Regions from separate parts of the Homo sapiens genome. Here regions 1 and 3 are each linked to region 2. Evidence: promoter capture Hi-C in human tissues and cell types (Jung and others, 2019). All regions are on one chromosome and are shown on one strand. Each heading gives the region's core, a stretch centred on a gene start or on the middle of the fragment in contact. The rest is flanking DNA. Distances are from core to core; before and after follow the strand shown. Region 1 has its middle 36 kb from the start of TAS2R16. Region 2 holds the start of CADPS2 (calcium dependent secretion activator 2). Region 3 overlaps CADPS2 (calcium dependent secretion activator 2).

Evidence for each region. The method cuts DNA at HindIII sites, captures the fragments that hold promoters and counts their contacts. A contact is called where the count stands out against the background at its distance.
Region 1: a fragment that was not itself captured here is called in contact with the fragment with the promoter of CADPS2 in region 2 in 1 of the 25 tissues and cell types used here (H1 embryonic stem cells).
Region 3: a fragment that was not itself captured here is called in contact with the fragment with the promoter of CADPS2 in region 2 in 2 of the 25 tissues and cell types used here (aorta and dorsolateral prefrontal cortex).

Annotation. Positions count from the first base shown.
Region 1 is chr7:123,030,466-123,033,165 of GRCh38, reverse strand. No RefSeq gene overlaps it. Among named protein-coding and RNA genes, the nearest start is that of TAS2R16, 36 kb to the right of the region's middle. The HindIII fragment of the contact is 5,146 bases long and covers 1-2,700 here.
Region 2 is chr7:122,884,840-122,887,914 of GRCh38, reverse strand. It overlaps CADPS2 (calcium dependent secretion activator 2), which reads left to right and starts at 1,455. Exons shown (of 30, transcript NM_017954.11): 1 at 1,455-1,916. The coding sequence starts at 1,578. RefSeq lists silencers at 1,048-1,207, 1,218-1,377, 1,448-1,527, 1,538-1,587, 1,628-1,757 and an enhancer at 2,118-2,167. The HindIII fragment of the contact is 17,974 bases long and covers 1-3,075 here.
Region 3 is chr7:122,744,540-122,747,329 of GRCh38, reverse strand. All of the region lies in intron 1 of CADPS2 (calcium dependent secretion activator 2), which reads left to right. The region is part of intron 2 of LOC124901738 (a long non-coding RNA gene); the gene reads right to left. Among named protein-coding and RNA genes, the nearest start is that of RNF148, 43 kb to the right of the region's middle. The HindIII fragment of the contact is 3,445 bases long and covers 1-2,790 here.

The sequences.
Region 1 (2,700 bases), core at 140-2,639, 150 kb before region 2:
GCTTACCACTGGGATCATCCACTAGAATTCATCTCATAATGGGATGTTCCAGGCATATGGTCACATGATAGGTTAAGCATTTCATATCTAGCAGGGTCTAGTAAGCTGCTGTATTAGTCCATTTTCATACTGCTATGAAGAAGTACCCAAGACTGAGTAATTTATAAAGAAAAAGAGGTTTAATGAACTCACAGTTCCAAATGGCTGGGGAGGTCTCACAATCATGGTGGAAGGTGAAGGAGGAGCAAAGGCACATCTTATATGGTGGCAGGCAAGAGAGCATGTGCAGGGGAACTGCCCTTTGTTAAACCATTAGATCTCATGATACGTATTCACTGTCACGAGAACAGCACAGGAAAACCCCAGCCCTGTGATTCAATTACCTCACACTGGGTCCCTCTGACATGTGGGGATTGTGGGAGCTACAATTCAAGATGAAATTTGGGTGGGGACATGACCAAACCATATCAAATGCCTAGAGCTCTTTTGCAAAGGACATATAACTCTTTGTTGGTGGGATGCATGACCTGAAGCCTAGAATCCCAGGAGTGTTTAATGTGATTTTTCATACTGGATCATTCTATTAGCTCTATGCTGCATTTTTTCTCACCATTGATACTTCCATCACCATAAGATATGCTGTATTGTACTGGCCAAGTAGTGGGGCTGATTGCACTGCCAAGTGGATATGCTACAGTAACTTTTACTTCTCTTGGCCCCAGCCAAAGATAGCAGCCCTCTATGTCACCAGGTATATGTGCCAGAGCAATATTTCTAAGCGTAGAAAGTGTTTTCTCCATAGCACTCTTGCTGGCTTTCCATTTACTTGCTTCTAGGAATACCAGGCTATAGTTACCATCTCCACAATGACTTTACCAATTATAATGATTATTCCAGCTTTCTGGCTTGTGATAATTAAGCAATACCACCTGGCCTGTATTACTGTGGAGCCCGACCATTCCCACAGATGCTAATAAGCCCAGCTCTGCGGCTGCACCTCCTACTATCATCACTGGCCTGTATACACTTCTTGGTGATGCTGATGCCTGTCTCACCAGTATAATCCTGATGACCTTGGTAAATGGTGTATTATCTGGGATCTCTCTTGGATCCCAGACCTCTGGTGGGTCTTCTGGCCATACAAAATATATCCATCCCATTATGCCCATTTCTCTCAATCTTTTTATTCTCTCACCTGCCATCTGCCATGCAGCATGTTAAATTTCATGTCCTAAGAAATGAATACTTGCTTATCTTGCTTTAGAATCCAGCCATCTAATCAAGTACCATCAAAATCCCAAAATACTCCCTTAATTTACTGCTCTATGCCAATGTTGGGGCACTGATAAAAAGGACCTCAACCAGTTCTTGTTATTCTTTAGGTTAATTGTTCTCAGCTGCAGGCATCTTTTCCCCCAAGCAACATTTCGAAACATCTGGAGATATTTTTGTTTATCACAACCAAGGATGTCACAACCAGCATCTAATGGGGAGAGGCCAAGGATCATGCTAAACATCCTACAATACCCAGGAAACCCTCCACAAGGAAAACAAAATATTCAATCTAAATTGTCACTAGTGCCATGTTTGATAAGCCCTGTTTTACATGTATAGTCTTTTTCCTCCCTTTTCAGATCCAGAATGTCCCAGCCAGGTGATGCTGGGCTTTAACCCTAATTATCAGCCCAGCAGCCAAGAAAGGAAGTGAGTGAAGGTTCTGAGAGGACACCTGTTTCCTTGTGTCAGAAGAAAAGGAGAAGGCTTCTGCAGCATCTTTCAGCAAAGTAGAATTCCTAACCCTTCCTTACTAAAAGATGTTGGGTCAACTCTGCAAACGTAGAAGGCACAACGAAGACAGGATTAGACATGAAGTGGAGTTCTTAGGGAAAATAACCATATAAGGGCAAATAGAAAGGGAGAAAAAGAAAGGGAGAGCCCTTAGGCCATGACGTGAATCTGCCCCGTGTGTGGAAGAGAGGGAGGGGAGGCTGCAGTTTTGGCAACATTTGTGAATTTTTTCAGGCCAAAGTTGGCCAATGAAAGAGTCATCTGTCTCCCAAAAAGAGGTCTCTGCCTTAGTATCCCCACCTCACTTGGTCATTGGTGTAGAGTGGTCCATGGGAGGCAGGCCTCTGCACAAATGCAATATTAGATTTTAATGTGCAGCTGCACATAGGGCACTCAGCCAGTTATACTTCCTGTGGTAGGATATCCATAAGGCCATTCTTGTGGGCTCCACAGTGGCCAACACAAAGTTAGCATCTGCGGACACAATCATGCAACTACTTCAAAGAGGGAAATGTTACACCCAATAAGAGAGAAATGACAGGCAGTGATTACGGCCAATCAGAACTTCTTTTCCTCATCTGATACACTCCGGGACTATTTCAATGGGCAGCACCCTGTGTGCCTTTGTCCTTTTGCCCTCTTGAATTGCAACTAATTATCAATAATTGAGGATAATTTCCAGAAAATGTGAAGGTTCGCAAAGGAATTCAGCAAAGATTACATAGTCCCTTTATGCATTGTGTTGCAATTTATAACTCTCAGATGCAAGCACACAGACCTTGATATAACTAATTTAGTTAACAATATTTGTTAATTTTTAACTTTATTTTTCCAAGGGTAAGGAAAAAAAGCTATGAATTACATTGTAAATATCAAAGATTATTTTTAGTTTATTAAATGGAATTTGTCCAA
Region 2 (3,075 bases), core at 206-2,705:
ATGCTCTTACTGAAGACCTTTTATTACTAGGGGGCCTGTTATGGATTAGGCAGAAAAATAGGTAAGACTCCTCAGGAGTAAATGCCTCCTTGTCTTTTACCCATCTAGAGAGAATGTCAGTAAGTGCAGAAGTCTCTCTTGTGTACCTAACTATATGAAAGTGGCCTGAAAAAGCTAAAACTGCTGTTTGACCATGGTGGTAGAGGAGCTCAGAGCTGGTAGTTAATTTGCCCTGTGTTATTTCCACTGAACTTCATCACCTCCCTGCCCACCTGGTCGCTGCACACTCCACCTGGTGTTGAATGCATTGTTTTGCCTATTTCCCCCTCTGTCAGGACTTAGGACATAAGATACAGAATTACTATAAGAAACTCCTAGGTGGTTCCAGCACTAGGACTGAGAAATCTGCGCAGATAAGGCAGGCTTCAGCGCAGCTACAAGACGCCGACTTGAGGCCAGAACCACCAGCGACTGAGTGTCATGTGCCTTAGTCACCGCGGGCTCCGCAAAAGGCTAACAGTGCTGGACACCGGGAGGGCGCTCAAATCTTTGTTGAATAAATGTCCACACTACACAACCTGTTTTGAGTCAACTGCATCCCAACCCAGAAAATAATCGAGATATGTTTGAGCTGAATCAGTATCATTTTGCACATATAAAATCTCTCTTGCCTTGAGTCTGCAGGACTAGAACAGTTTAAAAAGTAAGCCTCGTTGGTTTTCTTTTTTTTTTCATTACTCCGACTTTTATAATTTGGGCTTCAGCATGAGTATCAAAACGGCAGCAGAGCAGAGTGAGACTTTTCAAAGTCTTGTCGCAAAGATACTTCGTGGTGAAGGGCTCCAGTCCCGCTTTTCCGCGCTGGGGTTCAATCCTAGGCAGCCGATTCGGGTTGGGGAGATGTCTCGGCCGCTCCCCCTAACCTCTTGCTAGGGAACAGTCCCTCCCCGCTCCCCATTCCACCTCCACCTGCTGGAGAAAAGATCACAGGTGGTAGGGTGAGGGTAGTCGGAGCAGCCCCGGTGGACGCTTACACGGGCCATCGCGCTCGGCCGCTCCCCGCCTTTGCAAACTGTGTGCTAGGGCTCCAGGCGGGCCCGGGCAGCAGCGGCGGCGCGCGCACGCGCACTCCGCGGCCCCGCGCGGCTCTTCAACATTCAATTCCACGTGTTGCTTGTTGTAGGCGCCACAGGTTCCCCACCTGCGTCCGGGCGCTCGGGCGGCTCCGCCTCTGCCGGCGGGCTCTGGGGAACCGCTGGGTCGGCGCGCCCGGGGCTGGCGGAGCAATTCCTGAGGCGCCCAAGCTCACCCCCAACGCTAACTCCGCCTATTCAGTCCCGGCGGCTCCCCCTCTCCCCCCTCCCAATCCTCCTCCCGGCTCCTGCCCGCCCCTTTCGCCCTGGTGGTAGGAAACACTCCTGAATCTAACTCGACGTGTCCGGAAAGCCCTGGCCAGTTTTCCTTTCGTTCTGCGGCCGCTGCAGCCAGCCCCGCGGCTCCCTCAGACCCGCGGGCGCAGCCGCCGGGGGTGAGGCGCTTGGGGACCGCGGGCCGAGCGGCGGGGATCCCCGAGCACCATGCTGGACCCGTCTTCCAGCGAAGAGGAGTCGGACGAGGGGCTGGAAGAGGAAAGCCGCGATGTGCTGGTGGCAGCCGGCAGCTCGCAGCGAGCTCCTCCAGCCCCGACTCGGGAAGGGCGGCGGGACGCGCCGGGGCGCGCGGGCGGCGGCGGCGCGGCCAGATCTGTGAGCCCGAGCCCCTCTGTGCTCAGCGAGGGGCGAGACGAGCCCCAGCGGCAGCTGGACGATGAGCAGGAGCGGAGGATCCGCCTGCAGCTCTACGTCTTCGTCGTGAGGTGCATCGCGTACCCCTTCAACGCCAAGCAGCCCACCGACATGGCCCGGAGGCAGCAGAAGGTGAGTTGCGGGACCGGGCGCCTCCTACCACCACTTCTCCCTGGGTTTTTCTCCCGGGAGAGCTCTGGGACGCCTCCCGTCCTTCTGCGAAACGCAGGACACCGTATTTTTGTTAGTCTCTGAGGGCAGAGGAATCTTTGGGGACAAGACGGTGCTTTCACCCGCCGGGTATGCGGCTGCAGCGGACACCTCTTCTCCTCCTCCCCGCCTGGGCTGGCAGGAGCTGTCAGCTCACCATCCGTGAGACAGAGACCGACAGCGCCGGCCGCGCCGCGGTTGCACCCGGCAGGCGCAGCTCTGGCCGGATTAGAATGCAACTCCCATCAACTTTAATTTCCAACAGCACTGGTGCATTCCTGTCCACCTAGCCTGGCGTGATATTGCTAGAGCTGGGTTTGCCGAGGGTCTGAATGAGTGTTGTAGCTAGGCGAAACAGGTGGAGCCCGAGTACTTCTCTTAGCTAGAGTGAAGTCTTCACTTAAGAGGGGTAGAAATTTTCCTCAGTGAATAAAAAAGTTAAATTAATACGTTTCCTATATTGTCATACAACCAGGACATCAAATCCAAACACCGAGAAGGCATGCAGCTTTGTAAAGTGTTTGTGGGTAAGTAATTTCTGGTCTGGGCAGGCCTGATTAATGAAATATACTATTACTGATGAAAGATAAAGGATTGGTGCATGATCACTTCATAACAAATGCTTTCCAAATGCTTTTTTGGGGAACAAAATGCTTATTCTCCCCCAAAAGGTAAGAAGTTTGTTTCAGGTGAAAGGCTGGCCAACTTGAGTTTCAAAACAAGACCCCAGGGGCCTGATGTTCTGTACCAGACACGAGTAATGACTCAAATTGTCCTAAGTGGTTAAATGTTTACAATACAAACTCTAGGAAATCTTTTTAATAGAATGCTGAACCTGGAAGGTTCTGTAGAAATCGGTAACAGTTCCCTCAGTTTGTGACAAGACCTAGAGATCCAGAGAGATTGTAGTCTGCTCAAGGCATACCTACATGCACAGACATTTATTAGTTTTCTGAAATATTAACTTCAGTGTGTGAGGCATTTTTAGAAATTTGGAGAGGTTTTGAGTTGACTTCAACTATAACTGTAGTTCAGAGTAAATTCAGTCTCCCTACATTCTCCTACCCCCATTTAGATAACC
Region 3 (2,790 bases), core at 181-2,680, 140 kb after region 2:
AGGGTCACAGTGTGTGTTGAGCTTCCTTCCTTCCCCTCCTTTTTTCCATAGCACATGTCTGAGAAGACTTGTTTGCAAAACCTCCTGGATTTTGTCAGATCTTAGTGGGTGGCTGGGTGTTGGGGGGAATGGCTTTCTATTGCAATGAGAACTTCTCAGAATGGCTCATTAAAGTTTCTATTTCTCTTCAACTCTCTGCCTCCACAGTCATCTCTCAATTGCTGTTTGCCACAGAGATCACTCAGGCTGCTATTTGTGATAATTGGTTTACATTTGCTTTTGATGAGGTTACATTGTTAGTGGGGACCATTAGAGGCTATTATCATGGTCCTTTTCACTCTCAGAGAAGTGAGTGAGGCAGACGCTGTCAATGAATAAGAGAGTCCTAAAGCAGAATTTTGGAAGATAATGACCAACAAGACTTGCCAATTCTCTCTTAGTTACTTATTACTATGTTCAGGGAGAGTCCTGTTAAATAACTCCTCAGCACTTACCTTGATTATCATTAGTAAGGCTCAGGTGAATGAAGACCTAGAATCAAATAAGAATATAACAGTGGGTAAGGGGAATGTAGTGATAGAGCAAGCTTGTCTGGCCCACAGGTCGTATGCAGCCCAGGATGACTTTCAATGCAGCCCAACACAAATTTGTAAACTTTAAAACATGAGGGTGTGTGTGTGTGTGTGTCTGTGTGTGTGTGTCTGTGTGTTTTAGCTCATCAGCTGTCGTTAGTGTTAGTGTGTTTTACATGTGGCCCAAGACAATCTGCTTCTTCCAATATGGCCCAGGGAAGCCAAAAGATTGGACACCCCTGTGATAGAGTAAAAACTGTGGATTGGGGTTCAGGAAACCTAGGTTAGGCTCCCAGTTCTATGACCTAACTGGGTCTGTACCTTAACCTCTCAGTCTGTTTTCTTATCTATAATGTGGGGGTTGGCAGGTATTTTTTTATTCTTTTCTTTTTTTGTGGTTCTGAATGTTTGAAATCTGGTATTTCAAACTTAAAACGTATGTTAACTTGGATTAGCCACATTTCAAGTGCTCAATAGCTGCATGTGGTTAGTGACCACTGTGTTGGACAGCACAACTGTGGATCCATCTATTGTTAATTATTCACGGGCATCCATCTTAATATTTGTTTTTGTTTGTGGCTTCTGCAATTGCTGAAATAAAATGACCATGTATTTCTAAAATCATGGCAATTATAAAGCATTTAATATGTGTTAAGTATTTTTATTCTATCATTTAATGCAACAGCCCTATTAGATGTCTATTTTTACTGCCTTATTATATAGATGAAGAACTTGAGGCACTGAGGTTAAGGGACCTGCTTAAGACCCTACAACTTGTAGGGGAATCTTGGATAAAAACAGAAGTAGTCTGACTTCAGAACTCTTATTATTTCTACTTCCCCGTTAGTAATACATAAACTTACTAATTAATAAAATAGGTTAAGTTATCTATGATAGACTTTTCTGATCCATTGTGGTGTGTTGAAATTATCTGGAATTTTTATTATTGCATGATAAACCGACTTTTTTGTGGGGTCAGGCAAGCATGAGAATAGAGGATGTAGCTATCCCAGTAGGGAATAGTTTCATAGCAACCAACTGATATTTGCTTTCCCTTACTTCATTTATTCATTCTTTAAAAAAAAAAGAGGATATTCTATGTGCTAGGCCTTATCTACAACAAAAGCGGCTTTAGGATAAGAACTTGGTTTTAGGCTAAAACCAAGTTCTTATCCTAAAGCCACTTTTGTTCTAATGGAAAGACTTAAATAATAAGCAAATAAATGCCTACAAGCTGTATACAACACATTGCGTAGGGATAAACACCTTTTATTGAAAGAAGTCTGTAGCTGTGAGGGAAACGGAATAATATGGTAATCGGAAAGAATATAGGCTTTGGGATCAAGATGCTGGTTGAAATTCTATCCCTGTCTCTTACTAGATGCGAGGTTAAGTAAGATCCTTAACTTCTTTGAGCTTAGTTTCATCCTTTGTAACAAATATAGAGAATTTTAAGAAGATTAATCAGACATGTTAGAAGAGGGCAAAGTTTCAATTATGTGGGATGAAAATGTTCTGGGGATCTAGTGTACAGCATAGTGACTATAATTAATAATAATATATTTTATATTTGAAATTTGCTAAGAGTAGACCTTAAATGTTCTCACCGCTCCTGCCATGCACACACACACACAGACACAAAAGGTAACTGTAAGATGATGGGTGTGTTAATTAGCTTAGTTTTAATTATTTAACAGTGTAACATATCAAAACATTGTATACTTTGTATACCTTAAATGTTTACGTTTTTACTTGTCAGTTATAGTTCAATAAAGTAAAAAAAAAAAGAAAAATGAGATGTACATGGAATGTAGTCAGTAGAACATGACAAGGAAACTCATGGAATAATTAATGGATTTAACATTTGGAGCTTAGCATTCACCAGCTCCCTGCCCACGCCAGACAATGCCATGATGACATGTAATTTTGCTGAGGTTTGAATCGGACTGGGAGATCAATGAGAATGTGGGTAGGCGTCATTCACTTAGTGCTGAGTGAGCCTAGACTGGGTTGGGGTCCATTTGTCCACCATGCAATGGGAGTTTGCTGTTCTGTACTTATCACTTAGTTTACATTTTATTATAAAACATATTAATATGGTGTTTATAAATTTTGGGCTTTTAAATCGTCCTGTCAACACTGTGTGACAGTGGAATTTGGTTTGCCAAAATAACTTTGTTTTCAATCTATATCCAGCCAGCTTAGGTGTTCACTGTTC